Regions from separate parts of the Homo sapiens genome. Here regions 1, 3 and 4 are each linked to region 2. The links are contacts of gene promoters, found by promoter capture Hi-C in blood cells and fetal thymus (Javierre and others, 2016). All regions are on one chromosome and are shown on one strand. The core of a region is centred on a gene start or on the middle of the fragment in contact, and the rest is flanking DNA. Distances in the headings are between cores, read along the strand shown. Region 1 overlaps DYRK3-AS1 (DYRK3 antisense RNA 1). Region 2 holds the start of IKBKE-AS1 (IKBKE antisense RNA 1). Region 3 overlaps DYRK3 (dual specificity tyrosine phosphorylation regulated kinase 3). Region 4 overlaps MAPKAPK2 (MAPK activated protein kinase 2).

What was found. The method cuts DNA at HindIII sites, captures the fragments that hold promoters and counts their contacts. A CHiCAGO score of 5 or more calls a contact.
Region 1: a fragment that was not itself captured here is called in contact with the fragment with the promoter of IKBKE-AS1 in region 2 in 1 of 17 cell types (activated CD4 T cells); the score reaches 6.3 in activated CD4 T cells.
Region 3: a fragment that was not itself captured here is called in contact with the fragment with the promoter of IKBKE-AS1 in region 2 in 4 of 17 cell types (activated CD4 T cells, total CD8 T cells, neutrophils and 1 more); the score reaches 7.7 in activated CD4 T cells.
Region 4: a contact is called between a fragment that was not itself captured here and the fragment with the promoter of IKBKE-AS1 in region 2, in 1 of 17 cell types (activated CD4 T cells). The highest score is 5.2, in activated CD4 T cells.

Annotation. Positions count from the first base shown.
Region 1 is chr1:206,629,194-206,634,680 of GRCh38, forward strand. It overlaps DYRK3-AS1 (DYRK3 antisense RNA 1), which reads right to left. Exons shown (of 2, transcript NR_183645.1): 2 at 5,003-5,487. Among named protein-coding and RNA genes, the nearest start is that of DYRK3, 3.6 kb to the right of the region's middle. RefSeq lists an enhancer at 2,129-2,198. The HindIII fragment of the contact is 1,446 bases long and covers 3,439-4,884 here.
Region 2 is chr1:206,496,463-206,501,866 of GRCh38, forward strand. It overlaps IKBKE-AS1 (IKBKE antisense RNA 1), which reads right to left and starts at 1,266. Exons shown (of 2, transcript NR_172918.1): 1 at 1,132-1,266. IKBKE (inhibitor of nuclear factor kappa B kinase subunit epsilon) reads left to right here. Exons shown (of 22, transcript NM_014002.4): 22 at 1-427. RefSeq lists an enhancer at 1,211-1,360. The HindIII fragment of the contact is 9,082 bases long and covers 1-5,404 here.
Region 3 is chr1:206,645,368-206,650,860 of GRCh38, forward strand. It overlaps DYRK3 (dual specificity tyrosine phosphorylation regulated kinase 3), which reads left to right. Exons shown (of 3, transcript NM_003582.4): 3 at 2,021-5,493. The coding sequence ends at 3,598. Among named protein-coding and RNA genes, the nearest start is that of DYRK3-AS1, 12 kb to the left of the region's middle. The HindIII fragment of the contact is 1,066 bases long and covers 3,522-4,587 here.
Region 4 is chr1:206,714,245-206,720,471 of GRCh38, forward strand. All of the region lies in intron 1 of MAPKAPK2 (MAPK activated protein kinase 2), which reads left to right. Among named protein-coding and RNA genes, the nearest start is that of MAPKAPK2, 32 kb to the left of the region's middle. The HindIII fragment of the contact is 1,256 bases long and covers 1,800-3,055 here.

The DNA.
Region 1 (5,487 bases), core at 2,912-5,411, 140 kb after region 2:
TTGAGACAGACCCATGCATATATCATTCTAATCAATGCCCATGGAAACACCTGAATTTTCCTCCAACCCAGATATTTGCTCATCATTATTAGAGAAGGGGCTGAGCTGGGCAGAGGAAAGGGCAGAGAGGAGGACCTCCAGCTTGAGACTCCCCAATCCTGCGGACAGCTGGACCTACCCTGCTTTGAGACAGTATAGGGATCATAAGGATTTTTTGGAATTTCTTTGGGGAGCCTTACCCTTATCCCCCAACTGTTCCCACTAGGTGCTCAACCAAGCATTTCTTCCAGGCACATATGGTTGTCTCCATGAATGTAATCTAAATAAAAACAATATTCTCCTACTTCTTACATTTCCAGCTTAGTTTTAACAACCCTAGTGGATTAGCTTCCTAGGCACAAGTTTGACTGGAACACCCCCAATCCGGCTTTTATTAAAGTACAGACAGGTGAATGAAATTTGAGGATTAGGAACACAGAGGCATGGTGGTAGGGCCCCTAGCTGCTGAGCTGTAATTATCATGCATGGAAGTACTTCATGAATTGTTTTATAGAGCTTGGGGGCCATTTTTGAGGCAGAGGGGAACCTGTCTTCCATCATTTGGGTGACTTGGTAAGATGCATTTCAAAGTCTGGTGTCCAGGCTTTTGAGACTTGGGAATTTTAAAGACTTCCAGTAGCCTGGTGACCCTGATGTGGACTTTCAGAACACAGATAAAGCTGATTTCCAACACCTAGCTGTAGTGAATATCTGTTGTGTTTGCTGTACCATATTCACTTATCTCTTTTTTGGGACCCGCTATAGCAACTTTCCTCTGAAAGTCACTGTTTTCCTAACTTTCTGTCCAATATGTTTCTACTGCTGTGTCTAGGAGCCTCAGGCCTGACCAGTCAGAGTATTACATTTTCCTGGCTGCATATTTGGTTTAAGAATGGGCCCAGTGAAAGCCAGTGAATTACAGTGAGACTGTGGGATGACTGAGACAGCTTTTCTACTGAGTTGAACTTGGAACTGCAGTTGCCATCTTGCTTGCACAAAAGAACCCTGAGAATGAAACTAGCATGTTGGAATATAGAAACAAGAAATGGAGATAGGACAGGCACCCATCATATTCAAATTTAGCTTTACTGCTTTTAAAAAAATACTGTAAAAAAGGTATATGGTACATTTTCTTTTCTTTTTTCCTTGTTTTCTTTTTCTTTTTTTTTTTTTTTTTTTTTTTGAGACAGTTTTGCTCTTGTTACCCAGGCTGGAGTACAATGGCACAATCTCTGGTCACTGTAACCTCCACCTCCTGGGTTCAAGCCATTATCCAGCCTCAGCCTCCCAAGTAGCTGGGATTACAGGTGCCCGCCACCACACCTGGTTAATTTTTGTATTTTTAGTAGAGATGAGGTTTCACCATGTCGGCCAGGCTGGTCTCGAACTCCTGACCTCAGGTGATCCACCTGCCTCAGCCTCCCAAAGTCCTGGGATTACAGGCGTGAGCCACCGCACTCGGCTAGTACATTTTCTTTAAACAGATTTAGTTTGATATTTGCAATAGAAAAAGCCCTAACCTGTACACTAGGTGATTGAGAGAGAACTAGTTCCTTGGCCCAAATGCTGTGAATAGAGCAGGTGCATTGGTCTTCTAAGACCTTCCATGAGCCAGATGACTCAATAGGACTTGGTCTCCAAGGTCTACAGTAGTGATTTCCAAACCTGGCTGATGAACAACAGCCACAATAAAAATATGAGCAGAGATCCTTACCAAGAAACTGTTCATCATTAGATCTGGTGGGATGGAGGGTAGGCATAATTGGTATTTTTCAAAAGTACCCCTATCATTTATTTATTGCCATACCCCAAAGCTTAGTGGCTTAAAGTAATCATTTTATTTGCTCATAATTCTCAAGGGGCTGTTGATTTGGGTGGGGTGCAGCCAAGAGGTTCTTCTGCTAGCTTTACGTGGAACTCTCATATGGCTGCTGTCAGCTGGCAACTCAGCCAGGTGGCTTCCCTCACTTGTCTGGCAATTGGTATTAGCTGAGGACTACAGAAATCCAGCTCAGACTTGTCCACATGGTGGCAGCATCTAAGAGCAAGAGAGAAGAAGCTGTAAGGGGGGTCTCCTGAGGCCTAAGCGCCTAAATTCCTCACGTGTTATTGGTCAAATCAAGTCACGTGGCCAGTCAGCTTCAAGAACCAGGAAAATTGTTTCCTCTACTCCCTGGGAACAGCTGCAAAGGATGTGCTATGTTTAATCTATTACAGTACCCAAGGTTCCTAAGCTTTAATGCAACAAATTACAAATTTAGTGGCTTGAAACAAGGAAAATTTATTATCTTACAGTTCTGGAAGTCAGAACTCCTAAAATTGAGGTGTAAGCAGAGATTCGTTCCTTCTGGAAGCTCTAGAAGAAAATTTGTTTCCCTGCCTTTTCCAGCTTCTAGAGGCCACCTTCATTCCTTAACTCACGGCCCCCTCCTCCATCTTCAAGACCAACAACAGCATCTTCAAATCTCTTTCCCTCTCTGACCTCTGTTCCATGGTCACATTTCCCTCTCTGACCCTCCTGCTTTCCCCTTCCATCCTTTTTTTTTAGATGGAGTCTCACTCTGTCACCCAGGCTGGAGTGCAGTGGCGTGATCTCTGCTCACTGCAACCTCAGCCTCCTGGGTTCAAGTGATTCTCCTGCCTCAGCCTCCCGAGTAGTTGGGACTACAGGCACACACCACCATGCCCAGCTAATTTTTGTGTTTTTAGTAGAGACGGGGTTTCACCATGTTGGCCAGGGTGGTCTCGAACTCCTGACCTCAGGTGATCCGCCCACTTCGGCCTCCCAAAGTGCTGGGATTACAGGCATGAGTTACTGCACCTGGCCTCCCCTTCCATCTTAAAAGGACTCCTGTGATTACAGTGGGCCCACTCAGATAATCTAGGAAAATCACCCCATCTCAAGATCCTTAACTTCATCACATTTGCTAAGTCCCTTTTTGTCAAGTAAAGTGACATATTTACAGATTCTTGGAATTAGGATGCGGACATCTTTGGGGAACTATCATTCTGCTTACCATCTTCAGAATCTTAAATCAAGAGAAACTATGTCACAGAATTCAAGGGTCCAGTGGTCTAGCCTGGGCTAGCCTGCCAGGCTCAGGGAATACAGGTGGAATACAGGCAGTCGAGGGGCTGAGTTTTTCAACCAAACAGACCAGGGTTTGAATTTCAGTTCATCACTTACTGGCTGGGTGACCTTGGGCAAGTTATTAAACTCTGAGACTGTTTTCTGAAGTGTAGGATGGAGATAATACCTATCTCACGGGACTACTGTGAGTTTTAAATGAGCAAATATGTTAAAGTGCTTCAGATAGTGCTTGGAACATAATAAATACTTAGCAAATGGTAATGATGATTAGAAAGACTCCTGGTTTGGTTTCAAGATTTCAGAAATGAAGCTTCATAGGACCCCTCAGGGCTATAGGTGGAACTGGTCACGCTGACTTAGGAGGAACAAGTGGAAAAAGATGGCAAAAGTTTTGGAAAAGAAAAATAGGTGAAGAGTTTGTGATAATAAGGACAACCTTTAGGGTTTAGGAGACACAGAACTAAGTGTGTCTTAGTTGTAGCTGTACTACAGCACTGCGGGCATGGCTTTTGTTTGCTTTGTTAATAAGGGGCATTTTTCAAATCTTGGTGGAGAGGGGAGGGCATAAGAACAGGAGATGCCTGAGGTATAGAAGAGAGACAGTTTTCTGAGGCTCCAGAAAAATAAGCCATGGCTTTAGTGTTCCAGTGAGCTAGATTTCAGTGTTTCTGAAAAAAATAGCAAGTATACATTTCAGGAACACGGGTCAATTTGAGGTTAACATAGCTTGAGGAAAAAAGTAAGTTTCACTGGTTCTCTCCAGTGATTTTTAAAAAATATTTTCCAATTCTGTGATGCACATGTCACAGTAGGCATTATGGCACATTTTGCTGTACAGAAATGTCAATGAAACTTGTCCAAACTTAACATAACCTACTAACAGCTATTTTATCACAAAATTCCAGGTAAATGTGGCCACGGGGATGTTTTCTTAATCTGTGCATTTGAAACTTTGATCACATTGTGAATGTCCCAGTGGGTTTTTAAGATCCTGGAATAGTTGCATCTTTTTTACTGTTGTTTATTTCCTTAGTCAATGTATTAGAACTTGCAGGTACCTTATTTTGCAGATGTCTTGGAATTGGCTTCAAAGGACAGACATGCATCTTATATGACTTTTGGCTAATTCATGGTGGGTAAATCTGACTTTAACTGCATGGAGAATGATAATGGTGATTTTAAACTACTCTTGAATGAGGCTTTGGAGGGGAAGAAAGGGCATGAATGATGTGGAAGCTGCTTGGGAGCTGGAGGGGACAGGGCAGCGCTCAGCAGGGGTGTGGAGGCTCCTGCCAGATCCCTTATGGGACGTTAACCCCATCATACAGGGGATCTTTGAAGAAACATTGGGTCACTAAGGTCAGAGATTTATGAAGCTCCAGCACCCTCGAGGAGTCCTCTTTCCCTTGACCATGGGAACAATAGGCGAAAGACAAAGGCGGCCTCTGTATTTCCCACCTTAGGAGCAAGAAAGGGAGCAGGAACCCTTCCACTTGGCTCTGGAAGATGTGTCTTAAGCACAGACTGCGGATGCAATCCTCTCACGAGCAGTGATTCAGAATGAGGTAAGAAATCATGTGGGGGCAAGTCTCATTCAACTGTTTAGGGAGGGCAGTAAAGTGGTCTGAGGTGTCTACATAAGTACTGAGAACGGGGATTATTTAATAGAATTTTGCAATCTTAGAGCTGGAAGGGACTTCAACAGTAACCTCGTCCAATCTTTGCGTTGCCATGGAACTCTTTCTTCAAACAAAAGCTTCGTAAGAGCCCAAATACAAACCCCTGTGAAAGCAGAATTGCTCTGGTTGCAAAGTGGGGGAAGGGAGAGACAAAAAGAAAAAGTTTATTTATAAAATAAACTTTAAAAAATCATCATGGAAGAAAACTTTTTTATTTATATGTATATCATAGAAAGGCTAAAGTAACATTGATCACAAAAAATAAAATTCCCCAAACCAATAGATTATTAGTTTATACAGTGAAGATACTTTGGCTCTTTAGGGACATTTTTACTTGGAGTCACGAGAACAGAGAATATGACTTTTAGTCACACGGAAATGAGCCTTGGATGGGAATTTTTAAGATTTATGGGAACTGTGTGCTATGCTGATTTGGGACAATAAGCGTTCTAGTCCCACCAGGTGGCGCCCGCGTTCGGCATTCTGAGAACGTTTGGTGTCTTCTGGACTCCAGAATCTGGACGGTCCGACCGCCTCGTGCTTGGTGGGTTTACAAACTCTGACTGGTTCTTACCACCCATCTAACAGGAAATTTTTTTTTTTTAAAAACAAACCAACCCATAAAACATCTGACCAGATGCCACACTCAAGAAAACACTTGTATTCGGGTGTTTTAAC
Region 2 (5,404 bases), core at 16-2,515:
GAAGCTCTCATACGCCTTCCCACTCCCTCTGGTTTATAGGACTTCACTCCCTAGCCAACAGGAGAGGAGGCCTCCTGGGGTTTCCCCAGGGCAGTAGGTCAAACGACCTCATCACAGTCTTCCTTCCTCTTCAAGCGTTTCATGTTGAACACAGCTCTCTCCGCTCCCTTGTGATTTCTGAGGGTCACCACTGCCAGCCTCAGGCAACATAGAGAGCCTCCTGTTCTTTCTATGCTTGGTCTGACTGAGCCTAAAGTTGAGAAAATGGGTGGCCAAGGCCAGTGCCAGTGTCTTGGGGCCCCTTTGGCTCTCCCTCACTCTCTGAGGCTCCAGCTGGTCCTGGGACATGCAGCCAGGACTGTGAGTCTGGGCAGGTCCAAGGCCTGCACCTTCAAGAAGTGGAATAAATGTGGCCTTTGCTTCTGTTTCTGGTGGCTCTCCCTGGGCTGTGTCTGCAAGGCAGGGCTCTCAGCTGGGTGTGCTTGGCAACCAAGTGGGGTCTGGGCGGGGATCTGTGAGAAGTGCTGGGAAATGGGGGTGGGAATTGGTCATGTCCTGATTTCTGCCTTTCCCCTAAATGGGCCCTAATTTCAAGGAAGAACCCAAGGGGTGCCTTCCCATTCCTTCCATTCTCTTGCCCCCGCATCATTTGGAAAGCTGTGTGAGGGGCCTGGAACTTAGGGAGAAAGGTATTCTTCTTTTTTTTTTTCCTTCAAACCCACCATCTAAGTGGCTACTGCTTTTTTCCCATCTCCACAGCTATTCAAAACCTAGGCTATGTCCTAAATAGTGGGTTTGAATAGTATTATGGGTTATTTTAAGCATTCCTTCATTTTGTCTAGAATCTAGAGTGGTGCCTGGGCAAGGCATTCTGACTTTTGCAAACTGCTTGCAAATTTACCTCCAGCCTTCCCATAAACCAGAGCTGGACTACCCACCTACCTGGGTGGGTGAAGGAAGGGGAAGGGGAAATGCAGTAAGGTAGCCCCAGTAGGAGAGAGAGACGAGTGGGAAGCCCCACTGTGTGCTTCGAAGCGTGAAGACAGCATTATGCTTGACTGGAAATAACCCCAGAGATCCTTCCTGTCCATCTTCATGGGAGCCCCCACATCCTGAGGCCACTCTACTCACCTGGTAGGGCCAGAAATGGGGAAGGGTGAGTCCTGGAGGCTTCTGTCCTCTGTGGTGCTTCTCTGTGCAAAGACCAGCACTCTAAAGGCCTGGGGGAAGGTGGCTGGAGGTTGTTTCCTTGCATCAGGTCCAAGTGGCTTTGTGTTTGTTATTTGGGCCTCAAGCCCGTGGAGTCACTTAAGCCCAGGGGTTCAAGTCCTGGGGCCTCAGAGACCAGCTGCCGCCTTGATGTTCCTGGGTACTAGACCACCTCTCGTCCACTCTGCTGGCCTGAATTTCTGGCCAACACTTCCAGCCCATGAGTGGCCCTTCAGGGAAGTCCCACAATGGGTTTTCCCTGGCAGCAACAGCTTGCAAAACCCCATGTGCTTGGTGGAGCTCAGTGAAGGAGCCAGGGGATCCCTGAATGCCAAATACAGATTTTTGGGAGATGATATGATCCAGGCTGTATGATCTCATGAGCAAAGCCTATGAGATGTGGCGGACAAACTCACTCAAAGGCTTCAGTTCAGTTGTTTTTTTTTTTTAATTTTCCTTCTTTTTTTTTTTTTGGCAGGGTTTTGCTCTGTTGCCCAGGTTGCAGTGGAATGGTATAATCTTGGCTCACTACAGCCTCGACTCACTGTAGTGATCAAGCGATCACCACTACTACTCACTGTAGGACCAAGCAATCCTCCTGCCTCAGCCTTCCAAGTAGCTGGGACTACAGGCGTGCACCACCACACCCAGCTAATTTTATATTTTTTGTAGAGATGAGGTCTCACTATGTTGCACAAGCTGGTCTTGAACTCCTGAGCTCAAGCAACCCTCCTTTCTTGGCCTCCCAAAGTGTTAGGATTACAGGCGTGAGCCACCACGCCCAGTGGCTTCAGTTCATTTCTATGCAAGGCAGAGCTGCTGACATCAGTGCCTCCCTGGATCTGAGGTTCTGCAGAGCTGCTGATTCCATCTCAGTAGGAAATGAGGAACTGGACCAAGACCCAGAACAACCCATAAGATCCTCAGGTGTCTGAAGACCTCTTTAATGTACCTCTCCATTCTCTGCAGTGATTCCTAACATAACACTTAAAATGAAAAGAGCCCATTCAGTTCACCAGACATGATCTGAGCCCTTACAGTGTACCAGGCCCACGGGATGCTGGAACTACAGAGGTGACTAAGCCACCTTTCTGGCTCATGGGGAGCTCACCTCTATGGGGGAAGACAGGTATGCCACAGATAGCTTCCCATCATGGAGGAGGTGCTATGCTAGGAATGCAAACATCCAGTGTGGTCCTGAGTCACCATCCTCACAGGGGAGGGTGCTTAGGTCAGGCTGGGAAACTTCCTAAGTGTCAGGGAGTGACTGAGAACAGGTGAATCCAAAGTGGTCTTAGCAGGTGAGCAGGTGATACCTAGCAAAGAAGGTGTGGGAGGCATTCCTGGCCGTGGGAGCAGCAGTGGCACAGGCATGGGAAGAGCTACTAGTATTTCTATATGACTGGAGAGTAGGTTAAAGTAGGATGCTGGTATTGTGGAAAGGGAGGAGCCAGTCCAAAAGGTCCTTGCAGGCCACACTGAGGAACTTGGACTTTACCCCAGAGGACCACAGAGAGGTTTTAGGTCAAGTCCAACTGGTATTTTAAAGATACTACTCCTCGGTGCCCGTGTGGTGAGTGGAAAGTTGTGGGTAGGAATAGATTAGCTATGTGCATAAAGTGCCTAAAACTCAATATTATTATTATTATTGTTATTATGTGAGACGCAGTTTTGCTCTTGTTGCCCAGGCTGGAGTGCAATGGCACTATCTCGGCTCACCGCAACCTCTGCCTCCCGGATTCAAGCGATTCTCCTGCCTCAGCCTCCTGAGTATCTGGGATTACAGGCGTGTGCCACCACGCCCGGCTGATTTTGTATTTTTAGTAGAGGCGGGGTTTCTCCATGTTGGTCAGGCTGGTCTTGAACTCCTGAGCTCAGGTGATCCACCCACCTCGGCCTCCCAAAGGGCTGGGATTACAGGCATGAGCCACCGCACTGGCCCCAAACACAGTATTATTAACACAATAGTTCTCTGCATACTCCGCTCACCTTCCCCATCCCCTCCCCACCTCATTCAGCTATGAGCCCCTGCACAGGGTAGGTAGAGGAAACAAGTTCTTGTCTCGTATGGGCTGAGTCGGGGGCTCAGATCAGTCACAGATATCTGGGAAGATTCCATGTGGCATTCAGATTCATGGCTAGCAGCCTCTTAAAACAGGCTGATCCAAGCTAAAAGGGGGCCTAACTGGAAGGATGAGGGGGCCTGTCCCAGGAACCCAGGCAAGAAGTACAGTCAGTTCTGGAGGGCAGGGCGCTACAGGGCTATATCTCTCTTTCTCTCCCAGAATCCACACAGTTTCCTCTCTTGAGACTGGTGTCCTGGTTTCAAAACACATATTCTGGGATCCCACTCAGCTCCTGAATCCAATCCGTAAGGGTGTGGCTCAGGAATCTGTATTATTGATGAGCTTCCCTGGTGATTCTCACACCAGCTCAGGTTTGAGAACACTGAGGCAGAGTTTACAAAGATCCTGCAGAGGGCATGTGAATGGCCCAACAGAGGCCAATTGGCAGTGCGTGGTACACTGGACCAGGCACCCCACTCCACACCCACCCTGAGAGCTGAGGCCAGGGCAGCCAGTCTAAGGACAGGATGGATCTCAACCATGGCCAGGCCACCCTCCTACTGGAACCACCGTTTGCTTTCATGGAGCCACCTTGCTTCAGTATCCTCACAGGATTGCTGCAACTGGTCATTTTGGGTTCACTTCCAAACTGCTTCAAAGATTTTTATTTATGTTTATATATTTATTTTTTTTTAAGACAGAGTCTCGCTCTGTTGCCCAGCTGGAGTGCAGTGGTGCGATCTTGGCTCACTGCAACCTCTGACTCCCTGGTTCAAGTCATTCTCCTGCCTCAGCCTCCCAAGTAGCTGGTACTACAGGCATGCACCACCACGCCCAGCTAATTTTTGTATTTTTAGTAGAGACAGGGTTTCACCACGTTGGCCAGCATGGTCTCGATCTCCCGATCTCCTGATCCGCCCACCTCAGCCTCCGAAAGTGCTGGGATTACAGGCATAAGCCACCGTGCCCGGCCTATATTTTTATTTATTTATTTATTTATTTATTTATTTATTTATTATTTATTTATTTGAGACAGAGTGTCACTCTGTCCCCCAGGCTGGAGTTCCGTGGCGTGATCTCGGCTGACTGCAACCACCTCCCAGGTTCAAGCCATTCTCCTGCCTCAGCCTCCCGAGTAGCTGGGTCTACAGGTGCCCACTACTATGCCTGGCTAATTTTTGTATTTTTAGTAGAGATGGGGTTTTCACCATGTTTGGCCAGGCTGGTCTCAAACTTCTGACCTCAGGTGATCTCTCTGCCTCGGCCTCCCAAAGCGCTGGGATTATAGGCGTGAGTCACCGCGCCCAGCCATGCTTGGATGATTTTTTCAAGGGTGGAATTCTGGCTTCTTTTCCCCGATCTCACAAAGGATCCTTAATCAGGCAACCCCAATGGGAAGTGTTAAGGAATAGCCAGGCTGACCTGAAGTAGCTTCAGTTTCTGTTCCTTGGAAGCTCAGAATGACTGCGGCTGGAGCAGTGTGGCTCCCTTCCCTTCATTCTTCAGCGGAGACAGAGGAGGAGGGGTGAGATAAGAGGTGGGAGTGAGAAAGGAGAGAGGGAGGGGGAGATGAAGAGGGATGGAGAGGGAGATAGTGGATGAGCAGGGCACAGGGAGAGGAAGCAGAAAGGAGAGGCAAGACAGGGAGACACAGAGCACAGAGGAGGAGACAGGTGGGGGCTGGGGTGGGGCAGGGAGAGCCTGTGAGGTCACCCAGGCCACCCTGCTCTCGCTGGTCTGTTGTAACCCAGTCCATGGCTTCCTGCCACTGCAGTGGGCCCAGGGCTGGCTTAGTGCTGGAATGCAAGTGGCTGTGGCTTGGAGCCTCCCCTCTGGCTGAGGGAAAAAAATTGCTGACAAATCTGCTTGGAATATCTGAGTTTTTCCAACGCGGAAAGAAAACACACACACACACACACACACACACACACACACACACACACGCCAGTCTTATCATAAGCCTGGCAGAGCAGCTCAGGATGGAAAAATTTCATAATTGAGATGGATGGAGGAGGTGCCACTAAAACTGGTGGAAAACAAGCCCCACCTGCCCCCACTCTACGTGATGACACCTTTCCAGGAGCCCTCAGATCCCTCCCTGCTTTTGTCCCCCCTTGATCTGCCCTTCT
Region 3 (5,493 bases), core at 2,805-5,304, 150 kb after region 2:
TTCTTCAGGGTCCATTGAGAAAAACAGTTGTTCTTTTAAGTATCCTAGACTTCCTTTTATTTATCCTAGACTTCCTTTTATTTTTAAGAACAGATTTAACATTTTTATCTTTCCAGCCCCTTCTTAGTATTTTTCACTTATTTCTTTTTTTATTTTATTTTTTTGAGACAGTCTCTCACTCTGTTGCCAAGGCTGGAATGCAGTAGCGTGATCTTGGCTCACTGTAGCCTCCACTTCCCAGGTTCAAGCGATTCTCCTGCCTCAGCCTCCCAAGTAGCTGGGATTACAGGCATGCATCCATGCATCACATCTGGCTTTTTTTTTTTTTTTTGTATTTTTAGTAGAGGTGGGGTTTTGCCATGTTGGCCAGCCTGGTCTCAAACTTCTGGCCTCAAGTGATCTGCCCGTCTTGGCCTCCCAAAGTTCTGGGGTTACAGGGATGAACCACCATACCTGGCCAAAGTTTTTATTTTATTTTTTATTTTATTGATTTATTTTTTTGAGACGGAGTCTCACTCTGTCGCTCAGGCTGGAGTGCAGTGGCATGATTTGGCTCACTGCAACCTCCACCTCCTGGGTTCAAGCAATTCTCCTGCCTCAGCCTCCCAAGTAACTGGGATTACAGGTGTGCACCATCATGCCCAGCTAATTTTTGTATTTTTAGTAGAGACAGAGTTTCACCATGTTGGCCAAGCTGGTATCGAACTTCTAACCTCAAGTGATCCACCTGCCTTGGCCTCCCAGAGTGCTGGGATTACAGGCGTGAGACACCACACGTGGCCAAAAAATTTTATTTTTTAAGGTGTCCAGTATGATGTTTTGATACACATAGTGAAATGGTTACTACAGTCAAGCCAATTAAATGTATCTATCATCTCACATAGTTACCCTTTTTTTGTAATAGTAATTAATTAATATTAATTTTACTTAGGTGTTTGGTTGTTTTTGTCCTTCTTTTCCTCCATCTTATTTCAAAAAACCTTGTTTCAGTTCAAAGAATCTTAATTCAGAGGTGTAAGTAGAGCTTTTTTCTGTGGGTCAGTATCCCTTCCAGGAGAAGATTGTGGAAAACCTGGTGAAAGGAGTAGTACTCCTTTATCAAGTAGGCTCTTGCTAGGGAAGAGTTTTATAAGTACCCCAGGGACCTTGGACCCTCACTGTTATCAGGTACTTGAAGAATTGGTCCAGATGATCTCAAAAGTTCTCTTTAACTTAGAGCTTTTGTGATTCAATGAACTGAGTTAAAAGGCTACAGTAATTTATATGGGGACCTGGGAGTAGATGATTGAGCACGTTGTTGATTCCAGGCCATAGTCAACATTCAGCCCTGCTAGTCTACAGGTGCTGGGAGAACCTGGTGCTGAGTTATGTTAATGGCAAGGGCCCTTGAATAGGAGCCAGAAGACCTATTCTGGTTCAAATTCTGCTTCTGTCACTTGATAGTACCTTCTTGTTTACACTTCAGTATGCATTATTTTCATCATGCTATATGTCCTTAATATTTGGGAAGATACTTGAAACAATTAGTAAACAGTGTAAGGTAGTGCATATATTATACATAATCAAGTACCAAATTATGTGGCACAAACTGGAGAAGCTGCAGTTAGGATATAAGATTAATTAGTATGGGCTTGGCATAGTTCTAAGTGGAAGAGAGAGGAATTAAACTGGGCTTTGAAGGAATGTAGGAGTCGAGGGGATGAGGGGGTGGAAGGATTCTCAGTACAAGGACACATCTGTAAGAAGGAACCTGGCATGTGGGGGGCATGGTAAGATCATCTTGTCTTGAACAAAGCAAGGCATGTATGGGGGTTAGGGATGGCCGCAATATTCAGGGAGTCTGAAAATTAATATAACACAAGTTGCTAGAGACTCTTGCTTTTCTTATCTTCTTTTTGGGTCATTTTAACCTTAAAGTAAACATGACTGGACATGTTTTGTTGTTATTCAGTTGGAGGAGGGAGGATTCTTCCATCTTTCTAATGTTTTTAATGACTTATATTCATTTTCTCTTTCATAGATGACCACTGAGCAGTTTACAGGAGATCATACTCAGCACTTTTTGGATGGAGGTGAGATGAAGGTAGAACAGCTGTTTCAAGAATTTGGCAACAGAAAATCCAATACTATTCAGTCAGATGGCATCAGTGACTCTGAAAAATGCTCTCCTACTGTTTCTCAGGGTAAAAGTTCAGATTGCTTGAATACAGTAAAATCCAACAGTTCATCCAAGGCACCCAAAGTGGTGCCTCTGACTCCAGAACAAGCCCTGAAGCAATATAAACACCACCTCACTGCCTATGAGAAACTGGAAATAATTAATTATCCAGAAATTTACTTTGTAGGTCCAAATGCCAAGAAAAGACATGGAGTTATTGGTGGTCCCAATAATGGAGGGTATGATGATGCAGATGGGGCCTATATTCATGTACCTCGAGACCATCTAGCTTATCGATATGAGGTGCTGAAAATTATTGGCAAGGGGAGTTTTGGGCAGGTGGCCAGGGTCTATGATCACAAACTTCGACAGTACGTGGCCCTAAAAATGGTGCGCAATGAGAAGCGCTTTCATCGTCAAGCAGCTGAGGAGATCCGGATTTTGGAGCATCTTAAGAAACAGGATAAAACTGGTAGTATGAACGTTATCCACATGCTGGAAAGTTTCACATTCCGGAACCATGTTTGCATGGCCTTTGAATTGCTGAGCATAGACCTTTATGAGCTGATTAAAAAAAATAAGTTTCAGGGTTTTAGCGTCCAGTTGGTACGCAAGTTTGCCCAGTCCATCTTGCAATCTTTGGATGCCCTCCACAAAAATAAGATTATTCACTGCGATCTGAAGCCAGAAAACATTCTCCTGAAACACCACGGGCGCAGTTCAACCAAGGTCATTGACTTTGGGTCCAGCTGTTTCGAGTACCAGAAGCTCTACACATATATCCAGTCTCGGTTCTACAGAGCTCCAGAAATCATCTTAGGAAGCCGCTACAGCACACCAATTGACATATGGAGTTTTGGCTGCATCCTTGCAGAACTTTTAACAGGACAGCCTCTCTTCCCTGGAGAGGATGAAGGAGACCAGTTGGCCTGCATGATGGAGCTTCTAGGGATGCCACCACCAAAACTTCTGGAGCAATCCAAACGTGCCAAGTACTTTATTAATTCCAAGGGCATACCCCGCTACTGCTCTGTGACTACCCAGGCAGATGGGAGGGTTGTGCTTGTGGGGGGTCGCTCACGTAGGGGTAAAAAGCGGGGTCCCCCAGGCAGCAAAGACTGGGGGACAGCACTGAAAGGGTGTGATGACTACTTGTTTATAGAGTTCTTGAAAAGGTGTCTTCACTGGGACCCCTCTGCCCGCTTGACCCCAGCTCAAGCATTAAGACACCCTTGGATTAGCAAGTCTGTCCCCAGACCTCTCACCACCATAGACAAGGTGTCAGGGAAACGGGTAGTTAATCCTGCAAGTGCTTTCCAGGGATTGGGTTCTAAGCTGCCTCCAGTTGTTGGAATAGCCAATAAGCTTAAAGCTAACTTAATGTCAGAAACCAATGGTAGTATACCCCTATGCAGTGTATTGCCAAAACTGATTAGCTAGTGGACAGAGATATGCCCAGAGATGCATATGTGTATATTTTTATGATCTTACAAACCTGCAAATGGAAAAAATGCAAGCCCATTGGTGGATGTTTTTGTTAGAGTAGACTTTTTTTAAACAAGACAAAACATTTTTATATGATTATAAAAGAATTCTTCAAGGGCTAATTACCTAACCAGCTTGTATTGGCCATCTGGAATATGCATTAAATGACTTTTTATAGGTCAATGCATCTTTGTTATTATCGTCAGATGTATTTCAACTGATGTATTATACTATTGGTTTAAATCTCTTTCTCTCAAGATAGAAGGTGTAGCAAAAGTATCCCAACTACTCCTCGCTTCTAGTGTCCCTCGGCATCTGTTCTGGAGGGGTAATTTGGGATGTGGTGTTAGTTGTGGCTGAGAGCCAGTGCTAGGTCCCTTGCCCCACTAGGCCATTCTCTAGGCTCATTCTAGGTGAAAGAGCTCACAGCAGACTGTGGGGTGGGGGAGCACCAGGAAGCTGTTGGTGACCTGGACAACTGGTGTCCCTGGTTTTCAGTGACTCGCTCCTCTTCCCTTCAGTTCTCTGATGTTTGGTGTTATTATTTTATGTTGTTATTTTGCCTCTGATTTGTTTCCTAGTCACTCAAAGCATTTTACAGAAGCCTTACCACTTTACTAAATAACCCTGTAAGGTACTGATTTAAAAACTGAGTCATATGCATCCCTCCTCCTTTCCTCTCCCATGCCCAAGGAAGATAAAACAGCTTCTCTGCCACAATTGACCCAGAGTGGTAAAGATAGAGAATCAGCATGAAAACTGCAGTTCCCCAGCTTTGTGGTACTCCACGGACCAGCCTCCTTGCTGCATTTTCATAGAATCTCTTCCTTATAAAAGTAATCACTCTCGGATAAACCTTACTACAGTTTAAAAATGCTTCCCTCTTCTCTTTACAGCTACCTGCCACTTCAATGTGCCACATTTTTCCCCCCACTTTCACGTTAAGCTTAATGCTATTCCCTAGATCTGAGTGAACTTCAGTTAGAAGAAGAAAACTAAAAATCCAGAAACTGGTGATAATCAAGTTTTCCCTTTTTATGTTTCTTAATTTTATTCTCTTCAACAGCTTTTCTTTTTCTCTGCTAAGATTTAAACAGTGAGGGCTGATAATAAAACTAATTGTTAAGCCAGTGTCCTACTTACAAGGGTGGAGACGGGACAGAAGCTAACTCACTGCTACTGGGTTTTGTTTGTTGTTTCCTGTCCCTTGCTCTATTTCTGTCCTCTTCCAGAACAAAAGTATGCTCAAGTTCTATCCTAAATGTGTGCTCTTGGCTGGGTATTAGTGGCTCATGCCTGTAATCCCAGCACTTTGGGAGGCTGAGGTGGGTGGATTCCTTGAGCCCAGGAGTTCAAGACCAGCCTGGGCAACATGGTGAAACCCTGCCTCTACAAAAAATACAAAAATTAGCCAGGCCTAGTGGCACATGCCTGTAATCCCAGCTACTTGGGAGGCTGAGGTGGGAGGATCACTTGAGCTGAGATCATGCCACTGCACTCCAGCCTAGGCAACAGAGTGAGACTCTGTCTAAAAAACAAACCAAAAAAAGTGTGTTCTTTAAAGTAGAATATTTGCTTTTTACAATATAGTTCTCAGAATGATCCAGTTCCATTTATTATTCTAGAATGTGGTGCAAACTCAATGACATTGGAAGAGACTCTTTTTGTTGGGCAGTGTAGGAACAAGAAAAGAAAATAAAAATGCCATGAGTATATTATTTAAGGAACTTTTGTTTTATCCAAAAGTAGTCATGATTGCTGTAGCATAGGCTGTGAAAAATGAGAGAGTGCAAATCTCTCTCATTTAAATGTCCACAGTGGCTTTAGTCTCCCAAGTACAAGGGCCAGAT
Region 4 (6,227 bases), core at 1,178-3,677, 220 kb after region 2:
GAGACTGTGTTCATATACTTCATAGAGGTCCAGACCCCTTGCGTCTGGCATTCCTTTGGTCTATAATTCAGTAAACTCTGCTAAAAAGGAAACGAGACTAGCTTGCTGTGGCCTCTTAAGCGACCCAGGGTAGCTTGTGATGGTTCAGATTATGATTTGTTCTAGAGCTTTTCCAGAGGCAGATGTTGAGGAGTTTATCCTATTTGTCCCCTTCCCTTTAAACAAACAAAAGTGCCGGCTGGACGCAGTGGCTCATGCTGGTAATCCCAGCATTTTGAGAGGCTGAGGCAGGCGGATCACCTGAGGTCAGGAGTTCGAAACTAAGCCTGGCCAGCATGGTGAAACCCTGTCTCTACTTAAAAAAAAAAAAATTAGTTGGGTGTGGTGGTGGGAGCCTATAATCCCAGCCACTCGGGAGGCTGAGGTGGGAGAATTGCTTGAATCTGGGAGGTGGAGGTTGCAGTGAGCTGAGATCACACCATTGCACTCCAGCCTGGGTAGCAGAGTGAAACTCGGTCACAAAAAAAAAAAAAAAAAGAAGTCCCAACCCCCCAGTTTTTTATATCCTCTTAGTCATCATAGTTTATTAACAGTTTTGTTTACATATTGCTTCTTTTTCCCTCTTGGCTAGACTGTGAACCTTGAAGCCCTGTGAGCTTGGTCTAGTGCCTGGAGCATTGTGGGTACCAGGTTTCGAGAGAATGTGTGCTGCCAGAAAGCAGATCTTTGCCACCTCCTCTCCCCTCAGCTCCTGAACCACTGCCAGCAGTGGTTCTGGAATCAACCTGTACTTTCCTTCTGCATCCTGGGATGTAATTCTGGGTGATTGTAAGTTGGTTTATGGTCTAGCTTAGAATTGAGGCTTCTCTTGAGAGAGAGCATGTGTGTAAATGTTTAGCTTGTTCTAGTCTGTGGAGCATTCTCCTTCATAGAAAAGATGGGAAATACTGGAGATGAAAATTCTCCATTCTCTGTCATTTTGTGTGTTAGAGTCTCTGTCCCCATCCCAGGGCCACTTCCTCCCTGGTTCTTCTTATGGCTTTGGATGTAGCTTGAAGACATGCTCCTAGCATTTTCACAAGCTCTGCTTGTTGTGTTTAGTGAGCGCAGACTACTCCCTTCGGGCCTGTCCTGGCTCATGGGCAGTTGCTCGTGTCTTTGCACACATCCTTTACTGTCTCAGCTCTTCACTTCTCCCTGACATTTGTGGCTGCCTCCTCCTGGTTTCTTCTTTAAGCGATTATTGTGTTTTAGATGATCAGAATTCACTTTTTAGAGACTTGGACCTTGTCTTTCAAAATGCATTCCCTTTTGGGATCTCTGCCCATCATACTCCTTGGTCTCAACATCTAAATATTGGTTTTTTTTTTCTTTTTCTTTCTTTCTTTTTTTTTTTTTTTGAGATAGGGTCTCACTCTGTTGCCCAGGCTGAAGTGCAGTGGTACGATCATTGGCTCACTGCAGCCTTGACCTCCTGGGCTCAGTGATCTTCCTGCCTCAGCCTCCTGAGTAGCTGGGGCCACAGGCTAGTGCCACCATGCCCTGCTAATTTTTTAAATTATTCATAGAGACGGGGTCTCCCTGTGTTGCCCAGGCTGGTCTTGAACTCCTCCTTCTCCTTTTTGTATCCTCTTAGTCATCAAGCCATCCTCCTGCCTCAGCCTCCCAAAGTGCTGGGATTTCAGTGTGATCCACTGCGCCTGACCTGAATATTGGTTTTTTTGAAGTCTAGGCTAAACAACTGTTTTTGTCTCAGTTTTTTTTTTTTTAATTTCCCTCCTTTGAACTCTGAATTGACAAGCTTACTTCCTCCCAATGTGGTGTTCTTGTTATTATTGTTTTTGCTAGCTGAAGTATTTTTTTTTTTTTTAAACATAATTTACTAGGTTTTTCTTCCTGGCCAGAAGTAAGTTCAGGGTAATAGTTCCCTTCCTTGTATCTTCAGCTGTGTGAGAGGTAATGTAGAGTGAGAATTTATTTATCAGGTGCCCTGCTCGTAGCAGAAGGCATGACCTCGACTTCTCTCTCACAGTGACCTTGTGTTTGTGTTGGTGGCTTGAACTCACTCTTGTGTCTGGGCCATTTCTCTCACTGTGTAGGAAAGAGTGGTTCCTGTCTTCTCCCTGGCCATGTAGTCTGCTGTGTGTCACCATAACAATCATCTATCTTCCGGTTCTTTTTCCTTCTCTCCTCACCCAGTTGTCTCCAGTCTTAGGCGTGTGGAATTGTGTACTGGGTGGGGGATGTGTGTGTGTGGGCCGCCCTCTTGATTTGTAGGATCCTTCTCTTCCTCCACATTCTCTGTCAACTCTCCTCCACCCCCTGTGAGATCTGTGGACTCAGGTATACGTTGCTGTGAGTCTCATTCTGCTCAGCTGGGGTGATGAAGGTGAGATTGCTTTTGTCGCTTCAAAGTAAAATTTTAGATTTGCTTTGGCAGCCGCACAGGGTCGTATGCATGGGGGCTGCTTAGGCCAGAGGCGCAGTGTTCCTGACCTCCTTCCGTCTTACTTTCTCTTGCTAGTTTGTCCATCTCTGTGGATTTTTTAAAGTAGATACTAGATACCTAGATACTACTAAGAACATGATCTTTCTCTTCTTGCCACTTGGATTTTAGCTTAAAGCCAACTTGGAACATTTAGGGTGTTTCCTTCCTACCACTGTCTGCCTGGTCTCCTAGGGAAAGATGCCTTGTATCTTGTTCTGGTGTACAGTCTGCCCATTTAATTGGTAAGTGTTTATTGTGACTCTTCTCTACTGGGCTCTGGCCCCAGGCCTGATGCGAATAGGGCAGGCCTGTGAACAGAGCAAAGACGAGTCACTTAGGAGGGGACGAGAGAGGCCAGCGGTAAACTAATATTACCAGCTCAGGGTTTATTTGTCAAAGCCTCCTTTGCTGTGAATAAAAGGTTAGATCTGAATTGGGTCTGAGTCCTGGCTTTATTACCTACTAGCCATGTGGCCTTGGGCAAATTATTAATACTTCCTTGGGCCTTGGTTGCCGCACCTGTACGATGGAGTCAGCAATGGATCCTGTTCTGTAGGGCTGCTAGGAAGCTTAAATATAGCAATATTTGCTATATATAAAGTGCACCTGGTACATAATTGATGCGGTTGAAATGAAAATTCCTCTTTCTCTTTCAGTGCCATTTGCTGGAAGAAACAGAAGAAATATCTCTGTCCCCATCTTTCAGTTTCCTACCCAAGACTCCTGTGTGGTTGACATCACTGCTGTGTGCAGTGTTCATGTCCATATAAGTCAGAAGTGGCTTGCAGCAGTGGTTTGGGGCTTTGGGGCCTCTGCTCGCTCCTTATCAATTCTTAGGGTTACATCCTCTGGGAAGATGCCAGGCCTGGTCAAGTGTGGCCTCTGACCTAGAGTTATGCAAGGCCTCTCTTCCTCCTGTGGCCAGTGTGAAATTTCTCATCTGTGCTCTCCTGCCTCTAGCAGGAAGGTTGGCCTACATTTGGGGCACATCTCTGTCACTGTCTCAGGCCAGGGGTTCAAATATAAGACCTGAATCATACTGCACCTCAGAACCCAAACCCTTTTACTTAATTTTTTTTAAAAAATTTCATTCAGATGGTAAAGGTTCAAACAATACATAGAGATATAAAACAGAAAGAAAAAAAAATACACGCCTCTCTCTAGTACCTATTCCCCAGTAGTCAACACTGCTACCTTTTTTTTGCAGGGGAGGTAAATTCCTCCAGAAAAAAACTTAAACATCTACAATTTCATATATCCTCTCCCCTCTTCCCTAAAAAACAAAACAATAACAACAAAACTATAGAAATGGGATTATGCTATATATTCTGTTCAGTACTTTTTTGTTTTTGAAAATTTAAAAAATATGCAAAAGAAGAAAATGTCATCCATATTACTACCACTTATAATTAACCACTAATTAACTTTTAGGTGTGTTTGCTTCTTGTCTTTATGAATATACTTTAAAAGCTACTTAAGTAAGGTGGAAGCAGTTCTGTTTAAAAAATTAGGATGTTGCCCGGGCGCTGTGGCTTACGCCTGTAATCCCAGCACTTTGGGAGGCCGAGGCGGGCAGATCACGAGGTCAGGAGATCGAGCCCATCCTGAATAACATGGTGAAACCCTGTCTCTACTAAAAAATACAAAAAATTAGCCAGGCATGGTGGTGGGCGCCTGTAGTCCCAGCTACTTGGGAGGCTGAGGCAGGAGAATGACGTGAACCCGGGAGGCAGAGCTTGCAGTGAGCCAAGATCATGCCACTGCAGCTCCAGCCTGGGCGACAGAGCAAGACTCCATCTCAAAAAAAAAAAAAAAAAAAAAATAGGATGTTAAAGATAAAGCCAAAGTATTATATCATCTTGGTCCTTATCTGCTTTCCCATTTAATAGCATCCTGCTCTCCCCGTCGCCGTGGATGGGGAGCTGCCTCTTTCTTCTACGACACCGCACGTTTTCCATTGTATGGATTTGCTGTCATTTCATTTATCTGACCACCCTCTTATTGGTAGGCATTTAGGTTATTACCAGTTTTTTTGCCATTAAAATGCTTTATGAATATAATGTGTAGGATGGTTTCTTGCTGGGTAATTACTGGGTCCAAGGTTTGAACATTTACAATTTTGATAGACATGGCCAAATACCTCCCCAAAAATACTAGTTTATTTCTCTACCAACTGAATGTGTAAGAGAGTGCCTTTTCTCCCCAGATCTTTGCATAAACCTGGGAGTTTTATTTTGGTCAAACATTAAAATTTTTTTTTTGCCAGTCTGGTGAAATTATCATCTTTTTTATAAACATTTCTCTTTGAGCTACACTGAGTGTCTTCCATTCAGCCATCTGTGTTTCTCTTGCTTTGAACTGCCTGTTCTTATCGTTTGGCCATTTTTATATTAGGTTGTTGATCTTCAACAATTGATTTGCCTGAGTTAAGTTAGCCTTTTATCCATCATGTGTTGGAAATATTTTAAAGATTTGTCATCTACAGTGCGATTTTTAGGCCTCTTGACTTTTTGTTGAGCCCTAGGCTTTTGTGACTGCCTGTGACAGCTCTGGAGAGGGGGCCGACAGGCACAGTGGCCCGCAGTCGAGCCAGGCCCCATCTTCTGGGCAGTGACGCGTGGTTGTTTTAAGGCTTTTGGTACTGGGATTCCCCGTTGTAAGTTTTAGCTTTGTTTTGGGTAGGGACTTTTCCCCATCATATTAATGAACATTAATAACAAATAGAGACTTGCTTTTGCCTCCCAACCAAATGTTTGGGAATGTGTGCACCCACGTGAAGGGTCTGTGTGATATCTTTATCTCATCAACCTTCTAAGGCTTTTAAAACCTGTTGTTAGATTTATGTTTAGATCATGGTTCTAGGGGAGAACCATCGTCACTCCTCATTGAGCTTTGCAGAGGCTCTGAAAGGAGGACATACTCTCTTCCCCAATCAATGTAGAGGAACGTCAGTAGTTCAGCCAAGATTGCTCTATCTGCCACCTCTTATGCTTCCAAGCTGGGCTAATTGAGAAGTGTGACATCTTGCTCCAGCCTATAAGCAGCTGTCTGTAATTTTGAGAGATGAGAAGGATTCTCCCTTAAACCATTGCTGCTTTTGTGGCAGCATCTTATTTCTTTCCTTTGCAGCACAAATCACAGTGTATAATTAAAACTATTTTCTTTGAGCTTGTTTTTGGTGTACCTCCTGCACTAAAATGTTAAGTTCTGTGGCGGTCACGGGGCTTATTTGTCATGTTCTCTATTATACCCTTGGCATCCTCTAAACCAGTGTGTGGCACATGCTAGGCACTCCGGGGTTTCACTGAGTGATCCATTCTGTTAGGATGGGATCAAGTGCTCATGTGTCTCCTCCTGTGTCCCTCTCTGGCTCCAGATCTTCCACCTGGCAGAGTTTCCGGAAGCCCCAGAGATATGCTCCATGGCCATAGGGCCTGAGACGTGGATGGCTGCCCTCTGACTAAAATTTAGAGAGCTAAGCTTGTCTCTTTAAAAAGTAACATATACTAATTGTAAATCACCTAGAAAATACAGACATAATAAAGGAAATTAAATCTGTGATTCTGTCTTTCAGAGATCATTACCATTAACAACTCATTGAGTCTTAATGCCTTTATTGTTTTTGTTTTGTTTTGTTTTGTTTTGTTTTTGAGACAGAGTCTCACTCTGTTGCCCAGGCTGGAGTGCAGGCTCACTACAACCTCCGCTTCCTGGGTTCAAGTGATTTTCCCACCTCAGC